2 separate regions of the Homo sapiens genome follow, and region 1 is linked to region 2. The links are contacts of gene promoters, found by promoter capture Hi-C in human tissues and cell types (Jung and others, 2019). All regions are on one chromosome and are shown on one strand. Each heading gives the region's core, a stretch centred on a gene start or on the middle of the fragment in contact. The rest is flanking DNA. Distances are from core to core; before and after follow the strand shown. Region 1 overlaps ELK3 (ETS transcription factor ELK3). Region 2 holds the start of ELK3 (ETS transcription factor ELK3).

The links. Contacts are between HindIII fragments. The study calls those that stand out against the background at their distance.
Region 1: a fragment that was not itself captured here is called in contact with the fragment with the promoter of ELK3 in region 2 in 1 of the 25 tissues and cell types used here (heart right ventricle).

The regions. Positions count from the first base shown.
Region 1 is chr12:96,246,248-96,250,562 of GRCh38, reverse strand. It overlaps ELK3 (ETS transcription factor ELK3), which reads right to left. Exons shown (of 5, transcript NM_005230.4): 3 at 2,829-3,623. Among named protein-coding and RNA genes, the nearest start is that of ELK3, 54 kb to the right of the region's middle. The HindIII fragment of the contact is 8,099 bases long and covers 1-4,315 here.
Region 2 is chr12:96,192,215-96,196,424 of GRCh38, reverse strand. ELK3 (ETS transcription factor ELK3) reads right to left here and starts at 2,050. Exons shown (of 5, transcript NM_005230.4): 1 at 1,720-2,050. RefSeq lists an enhancer at 675-754 and a silencer at 2,086-2,225. The HindIII fragment of the contact is 13,150 bases long and covers 1-4,210 here.

The DNA of each region.
Region 1 (4,315 bases), core at 1,432-3,931, 54 kb before region 2:
GTTTCTGGCTGTCACCTGGAAGACAAACTACTGAGCTGGTGCTGGTGGGTGAGTTTCTGGGGCACCCCCTGAAGCAGCTCCCAGGGGAGGGAATCTGAGAGTCCAAATCTGACACTGACATACCCTAATCCTAAACCACCCCTGGCTTCAAGATATCCTATCTGATCTCAGGGAATCCGCCTGGGTGAAACCGGCTGCAAGAACTCAACTCTGAATAAGTACCACACCCCTGACTACCACCCGGGCCCCTCTGGTGTCTCCCTCATTGCCCCTTCTCTCCCTCCCTGTTGGCCACCCATGGCCATGCCAGGAGCAGAGCCCACACTCTGGGAATGTGAGGGAAGTTCAAAGTGGGGTCTGAGTCCCGAGGCTCTACCATCTCCCAGTGTAGCTGGTGACCCCCTTAGTTTTGCGTGGTTTAGAGGACTGCCTGGTGCCCCTCCTCCTCCTTTGACCCGAAGGCCCTCTCTGAGCCAGGTCCCTTTACTTCCACTCTCCTGCCCTGGGTCCAGATGCTGCCTGTTGCCTCCCTCCCCTCAGGACCATTTCTGGGCTTCCTGGCACTAAATCATCACAGCCCCACCCTCACAGCTTGGCTGAGGACCAGGCACCCTCACTGCCTAAGGCACAGGTCCTCTTGTAAAGATCCTGGCTTTCCTACGCCTTCCCACCTAGTTTCAGGCCATGCTGGTGGCTTCTGGCTCCTGGTCGTGCCCTCTGCATCCATTTGTTGGGCATCCACCCTTGATCCTTCTCTCACGCCCTCAGCCCCACCGATGGGAGCCACCACTCCATCCACATTATCCACAGGGCTGGCTGAGCTGACTTCCTCTGAGACAGGGCTGGCATCTGCCTCACTCTGTTCTGAGAAGGTGATCCAGGCTCCCAGGGAACACAGACACCTAAATCAGAGTCAGCCCTGGCCTGGCTTCGGACCTTTCTCACCCTGACAGTTGTAAACACACAGGAGGCCAGGGGAGGAGATGCTCAGATCATCTACCCTGGCCCTGCCTCTCAAGATACTCCCCTGAGCTACATCAGGAGCTGCTGTTTCTGAGCCATTTGCTCAGCAGCCCTTGGTCACTGGACAGCCTTGCTTAACTGGAAGATGCCTGATTTAAGAGCACACGTGCTCACTCTGACCTATATCCTGATCCCCTGGCCCTCCCCCTCCGCAGTGGCGCGCGTCACCACCAGCTCACAGGCTTGAGCTGTCATGAAATCCTGGGCAGAATCCAGTCCAGAGAAAGCGTGGAGAGGACAGTGGCCCAGAGCTGCTTTCAGGTGCTCCATGGACGGCCATCGTGATCAGGGACACTGCCTTCTCGCAGCGGGAATGCATTTCATTTGAGAGCATGGATTCTGGAGGCAGACACTGGATCCAAAGCCACCTCTACCACCTATTGGCTGTGGGACCCTGGACGAACTACTTTACCTCTGTGCCTCATTTATCTCAGCTGGGAAACAGGATGATAATAATAGCACAGGCTCAGCATCCCAAATCCAAAAATTCCCAAATCCCAAATCCTCCAGAATCTGAAACTTTCTGAGTCCTGACATGACACTCCAAGGAAATGCTCATTGCAACATTTTGGATTTCAGATTTTCAGATGTGGGATATTCAACTGGCAAGTATCATGCAAATATTCCAAAATCTGAAAACATCTGAACTCTGAAATGCTTCTGGTCACAAGCATTTTGGAAACAGGATGCTCAACCTGTATCCACGTGACAGGGCTGCTGTAAGTGTGGATACAGGCAATGCATGTAAAGCATCTGGAGCAGTGCCTGGCACACGTGGGGAGCCCGTCATATGCTGCCGCGGCTGCTGCTAATGACAACAGGGACAACTACGATGAGATTACAGAGGCAGGGGACGGGTGCAGCTCCACGGTTAACAATGCTACCAGGTGTCCCCAGCTCACAAAGCCTGTCCATGGTCCCATTTTCCACACATGGAACCTGGCCCAGAGAGCAACCGCCCACAGTCCCACTCCTAGGAAGCAGGGTAGCCAGGAACTGAATGCAGGTCTGTGAACCTAAAACGAATACTCTTTTAACCTCTGCCACTAAAATTGCATCCAATTTTCAAGGGGAAGGAGAAATATGGTTTCCCAGCACCTACTACGCCTTTGCACTGCAATTGTCAGCTGGACAAGAAAGAGCATCTGAATATCTGATTTAAAGGAAAAGGCTGCTTTCTCTTTGGGACTAATAACAACGAAGGCTTTTTTGGCTCTGCAAGTTTGCTGTCCTCTCGCCAGTGCTGTGGACTGGGGCTTTCTCAGAGTAGTGCTGCTTTCAGCGAAGCAGCTGTTTGGGGTGGCCCCTTTGTTTCTTATTACCTACGCTATGACCACAGCTCCACACTGACATGCGATGGCGGCATCAGTTGACATCTATTTTCTTGTTAACAGAACACAAGTGGCTCCTTATTAAGCGCCCCCAGAGAAGATTCTGCCATAAAAATTTCATAAAGCCCAAGCGCCTCCCGAAATGTAAACTGGCCCGCTCAACTTTCCCTTGGAAATCGCTGGTGAGATCTGCTTTGTCGGCCAGTGTGCGTGTTCCACCTATGGTCACTTTAGGCCGCTAAAAGCAAGAAACCAATCAAGCATCCCACTAGAGTCGACAAACCAAACCCTGTCTCATGTGCACCCCTTGGTCTGAGGATGGAAAAGCAGCTTCCCTTCACATTTACACAGTGACCTCGGTACGAGTCATAGGACAACGTTTTGAGGGACAGAAGGAAGTCTCTTTAGTTGCTCTTCCTTTTTTGCTAAGCCACTGAAGCTGGCTGTGGCTTAGATGACAGGAATGACTCTTACCTGTGCGGTGAAGAAGGCTGGGGTGAGGGATCCCGAGGGGAGGGCTGGGCTGTTGAGGGCGATGGAGCCGATGTCGGTGCCGGAGAGCACCAGCGGGGGCGCTGAGATTTCCAAGCCTTTGGGTTTTTTGGCCTTTGGGGGAAGAGATGGAGACTTGGTCTTGGAGCCCGATGACAGGTTCAAGGGCTCCAGGGAATCGGAGTCATGGCAGGCGGCCTCCAGGAAGAGGCTTCTGTGTTCAGAAGGGAGGGGTGAGTTGGGGGACAGGGACGGGGACCGAGATGAGAAGGGTGAGGCGGATGAAATACTGGCAGCGTTTGGCAACATTAAAGAGGAGATCTTGGCCGAGACGGACGAGGCCAGGAAGGCGGACGCCGCCGCAGCCTCTGACGTGGAAGGCAGGGACACCACCGGCCTGGTGACGTGCTTGTCGGTTTTATTGGTCACAAACCTGATCACAGTCCTGACTTCTTCCACGGGGGGGCTGTCTTCGGGCGGCTCCTCCAGCTTCTCCGTCTTGATGGCCTTGAAGGCGTCTGGTGGGTTCTGCAGGGAATTAATGGTGAAGGACGAGTACAGGCCTGAGTGGATGTATTCGTTGCGGCTCGTGCTTCTGAGGGCGGCCAGGCCGTGTTTGTGGGCCTCGCGGCCCTCCGGAGACGCCTTGCAGTCGCTGTCCTGCAGCAGAAGGCTCTCCCGGCTGATCTCCACCGCGTGAGGATCCATCTTCAGGATCTCCGGGAAAGAGACAAACTTGTACACAAACTTCTGCCCGATCACCTTCTTGATGATGTTCTGCAAATACAAAAGTAGACGTTGAAAATCTGAGTGCACCCGAGAAACCATGTAAGAGCTCATGATAATGGTAAATGTCGCTGGCAGAAGCACCAAAATGTTCCTGATTTACATTCTTGGCTAAGGAAAAGTGGAAGGAGGAATGAAGTTGGAAGTAGAATTAGATGTGCATTCCAGTTCTGCCATTACTAGATCTTTGTGATCTTTGGCAAATTAAGTGCCACTTTGAGTTTCCTCGTCTGTAAAGTAAGGAAGATGATGATGATGATGATGATTTCTTAGACAGGGTCTCACTCTGTCGCACAGGCTGGAGTGCAGTGGCACGAACATGGCTCACTGCAGCCTCAACCTCCTGGACTCAAGCAATCCTCCTGCCTCCACCTCCTGAGTGGCTGGGACTACAGGTACATGCCACCACACCCTGCTAATTTTTACATTTTTATTTTTTGTGGAGACAGCATCTCACTTGGTTGCTCAGGCTGGTCTCAAACTCCTGGACTCAAGCAATCCCCCAACCTTGGCCGAGTGAGGATTATTCTATGTAATAACATAGTAACAGCTGCCATTTATGAAGCCTTTACTATGTGGATGGGATTATTCATATCTTATCTCATACAATCTGAACAGCAATCCTAAAAGGAAGGTGTTGTGACTCCTATTTTAAAAATTTGGAAAATAAGCTTAGAGCACTT
Region 2 (4,210 bases), core at 801-3,300:
CCCACCCCCAAAGACAAGCACAGATGGAGAAGATGGGTGTGTGTGAGCTGCTTATCTCCCCCCACCTCTCAACACACATACACACGCGGGAAAGAAAAACCTGCAAATCTGAAATCCAAAATGGCCAAAGTGACTTCAAAGTTTTCAAGACATGTCCTGAAAAGGCTCGTTGGGCGGCTGCACCCCTAAGTAAATAAAGCCATAACTTGTCTCCTTCCCCAGCGCCGGGCTCCCAGGCTGACAGTGGCTGCACAAAACCCCTCCTGTGCCGAGCAGCGGAAACTCCTAATGAGATTAGTTGGTGTGTGTGCAGACATTACTTAGCAATGACTAAGGGGGCTCTCTCTTCCTGCAGCAGCCAGTGGAAAATTCAAGGAACTTTTTCCCCCTGCAGCAGCAGAATCCCTTTAACCCTCTCCGCAGCCAACTCCAAAAACAACTCAGCCTCCCCTTTCCCCGCCACCCCCAGGCTGGAGGACTGGGGTGGGGGTAGTTAAAGACCGGCCAGGGGCTTTCAAATGAGGGAGGGTGGGAGGGGGCTGGCGGGGAAGGGGCGGGGGACCCCTCGAACACTACAAAGGAAACTGTAAAAGGCACAAATACATAAACCTAAGAAGGAGCAAACCACAGTTTCTTTGTGAGCTCCTCTAGTGAGTCATTTTCAAGATGCTGTCTGCTGCCAGTTTCAAAGCGGAAGCGCATGGCAATTAGTCTTGCCGTTTCCAGACAAGCCAGAAACTCTCCCGACACTCGTTTTTTTTTCTTTCTAAAAAGCCCCTTTTGCAGTTTCTGAAATAACATTTCTTGCTTCCACCTCCACCCGCCGCCTAACTGCAGCTTGTCCCTAGGATGATTCGGTTCAGAAAAGATAACAAAACCAAGACCTTTTATTTTTGCTTTTTAACTACTCCAAAATCTTAATCCCGCCTCCCCAAAAGTTACAGTAGCGTCACAGGCCAACGTTGAGTTCGAAGGTAAACAGGGATGGGGAGTGGAAGGGGCCCCAAGATCATTTCTTGCCTGGTCCTTCTCCAAAACCATGCCCAATAGAGACCACCGGCTTTTAAATGTCCGATGGGGCGTGCGCCTGGGGCGGTGACCTGGGCGGGGGTCACCTGCCAAGCGAGAGTGGACGCAGCCCCCAGCCCCACACCTTCGCGACCCATGTCCTCCACCGCCCTCTCCATCCCTGTCTTCCTCCCTGGATCCGAGCACCAGTGCACTTTGCCCACTCGAGGGGAGCCTGACTGCGGTCCCAGCTGGAAGGTCGGCGGTGGTCCAGCCTCCAGGCACTCAGCCTGCTCCTGCCACGGTTCTTCCCAGGGACCCGAAGTCTCGCCGTCCCCCGCTCCCCGCGCTGCCTGCAGCGGGGCCCTGGGCGAGCTCCCAGGGTTGCACGCCCGGCGCCCCTTCCTCTGGGGTCGCAGCGCAGCCCCAGGGAGGGGAGCCGCGGGCGCAGGGTCCCCGCAGCCCCGGGCCCGGCGCGAGCTCGGGCGACGGCGGTGGCAGCGACGCGGGCGCAGGAGCATCCGCGGCGCCCCCTCCCCGCGGCCGGCCCTCCCGCGCGGACGCACCGCCACCCCCACCCCGGCCCGCAGCCCACCCCGCGGCGCCCCCCGCCCCACCCCCACCGCGCCCAAGAAAAGAAAGAAAAAAAGAAAACACCCCCAAACAAACTTTTTAAGTGTCCGAGCAACAGGCAGAAGCCCTGTTACCTACCCAGATGTGGGGGAGTCTTCTTCGGGGGGAATTTCTAGGAGGACCCGGGCGAAAGCCCCCGACTTTCCATGCTGACAGGCGTCTGCAGACGGTCTGTGGCTCTTGTAATGAGATCCTGATTTTTCCCCCTTTTTTTCTTTCTCTCGCTCCTCTTTTTTTTTCCCCTCTGGTGTGTGTGAGAGCAGGAAGTTGGAGCAGTCAGGCCGAGCCGGCTCACTTCCTTTACTGCATTATTCCCCAGGCGGTGTGCAGTCTGTGTAAACAGGCTTTTCCGCCCCGCGCCGCGCGCCCCGGCCGCGGCTGTGCGCCGGGGCTGGCCGCCCAGGCCCGCGCCTCCCCCGCCGCCCCGGCCCCGTGCGCGCCCCGCACCGCCCCCACCCGCCCCGCTTCCTGCGCGGCCACCCCGGGGAGGAGCCTCCGACCCGCGGCGACTCCGCGCGGCCGCAGCCCCTCCCCACGGGGAGGGGGGTCCGCCCGCAACCCGCAGAAGCCGCCGCGCTTCCCGGGACACCGGGGATCCCTCCTCACCTCAACCCCTGGGGGTCGAGCGCGCGGGGCACCACGACGGGGTCGTGCCCTGCGCAGTTGGCCCGGGAGGGGGGTCCCGAGGTGGGGAGGCGGCTGGACTCGCTGTTTCCCATCCGCTGGGATGGAAGAGTTGGGGGGCAGAGGGGAATCGAGAGTGGGGTTCAGGGTTTGGTTGCTCTGGGCAAAGGACTGCTTTTCTTGTGGGTGCGGGCACAGTTTCCGTCTGGGGTTGGAGATGGACACCGTTCCTGTCTGGGTTTTCGGTGTTTTAAAAGCCAGCCCTCGGCCGGGCGTGCTGGCTCACGCCTGTAATCTGAGCACTTTGGGAGGCCAAGGCGGATGGATCACCTAAGGTCAGGAGTTCGAGACCAGCCTGGCCAACACGGCGAATCCCCGTCTGTACTAAAAATACCAAAACAACAACAACAAAAACAGCCAGGTGTGGTGGTGGGTCCCTATAATCCCAGCTACTTGGCAGGCTGAGGCGAGAGAATCGCTTGAACCTGGGAGGCAGAGGTTGCAGTGAGCTGAGATCGCCCCATTGCACTCCAACCTGGGCAACCAGCGAAACTCCGTCTCAAAAAAATAAAAAAGCCAGCCCTCAGTTGGGGGGCGAGCCTGTGGGGAAAGGATAAGGAGCCACAACACTGGAAGTCATGGAAATAATGCCCGCAGGGTCAGAGACTGAGGCTTGAAGGGAGCCTCTGTGGTCTCAGAACTGGTCTTCACACCTCCACATCCCTCAAGGAGGTCCTGCCTCTGAGGGCTCAGGCCAGGCTCTGATGGGAGAGCCTGCCCATTGCCCTAGGCTGAGACAAGGTTGGGGGGGATGGCTGTTGAAGAGCCTCTCCCTTCCCAGGCCTGCGCCCCAACCTCACTGCTCACCTTCCAGAACCTTCCATTCCCATGCCGCCACTTAGCAGCCCAGACCCCTGGTTTTCAAACTTGACCCAAGGGGCTTGTTAAACCACTAGTGGCTGGGCCTCTCCTGGAGTCCCAGATTCAGTAGGTCGGGGGTGGTTCCGGGCCCCGGCTAATGTCAGAATCACCTGGGGAGTGTTTTGACACTCTCCAACAATATACTCAACCCAGGCCAATTAAGTCAGATTCTCTGGGGGCCGGGTGTGAGTCCTTTCAAAAGGACCACATTCTAAGAGTTCCTCCACTACGTTTGTTTCTAGTTTTGCAGTCTCTCCTGAAAGATTATTTTGTTTACAAATTTCTCACTGCCATCAACTGTGAGCTGCTAAAGGGCACGGGGTATGTTTTACTGATTAGTACCACATCCCAGCTCCAAGTGCCTATCAGAGCACACAGGTGATAGGAATTTCCTTCGGGCATTTGCTTCAGGGCTCCTGTGGGTAGTCCACTGGAAAGGGTGGGAGAATGCCCTCCAGACCTCTGAGAAGGAGTGGGAAACCCGTGGGGTGTAGGGTGGGGGCACGGTAGGAGAGTGGGGCAGAAGGAGAAGATATGGAAAAGAGGGCTGCTTATCAACCCCTGATTTCCCACAGCTAATTTTCCAATTAGGGTATTATTGTTTTAATCCCCAGTCATCTTCTTCTGTCACTCAGTAGAACACCTATGGTGTCCCTATATGATCCAGCTGTTGGACTGAGAGAATGTAAACTTATTATCCTCAGGGAAAAAAAAAAAATCCACACAGTTAAGAACTCATGTTGCTTTGCTTTAGGAGATATATGCCTGAAAGAAACCGGTCTGAAAAGGCTATGTTCTGTATGATTCCAAACTATATGACATTTTGTAAAAGGCACTATGGAGATAGTACAAAAGATCAGTGGTTGTCAGGGGTTAGCAGGGAGGGAGGGGTGGACAGGAGGAGCACAGAGGGCAAGGAAACTACTACTCGGTATGATACTATAATGGTGGACACATTTGTTAAGACCCACAGAATATACAACACCAAGAATGAACTCTAATGTAAACCATGGACTTTGGGTGA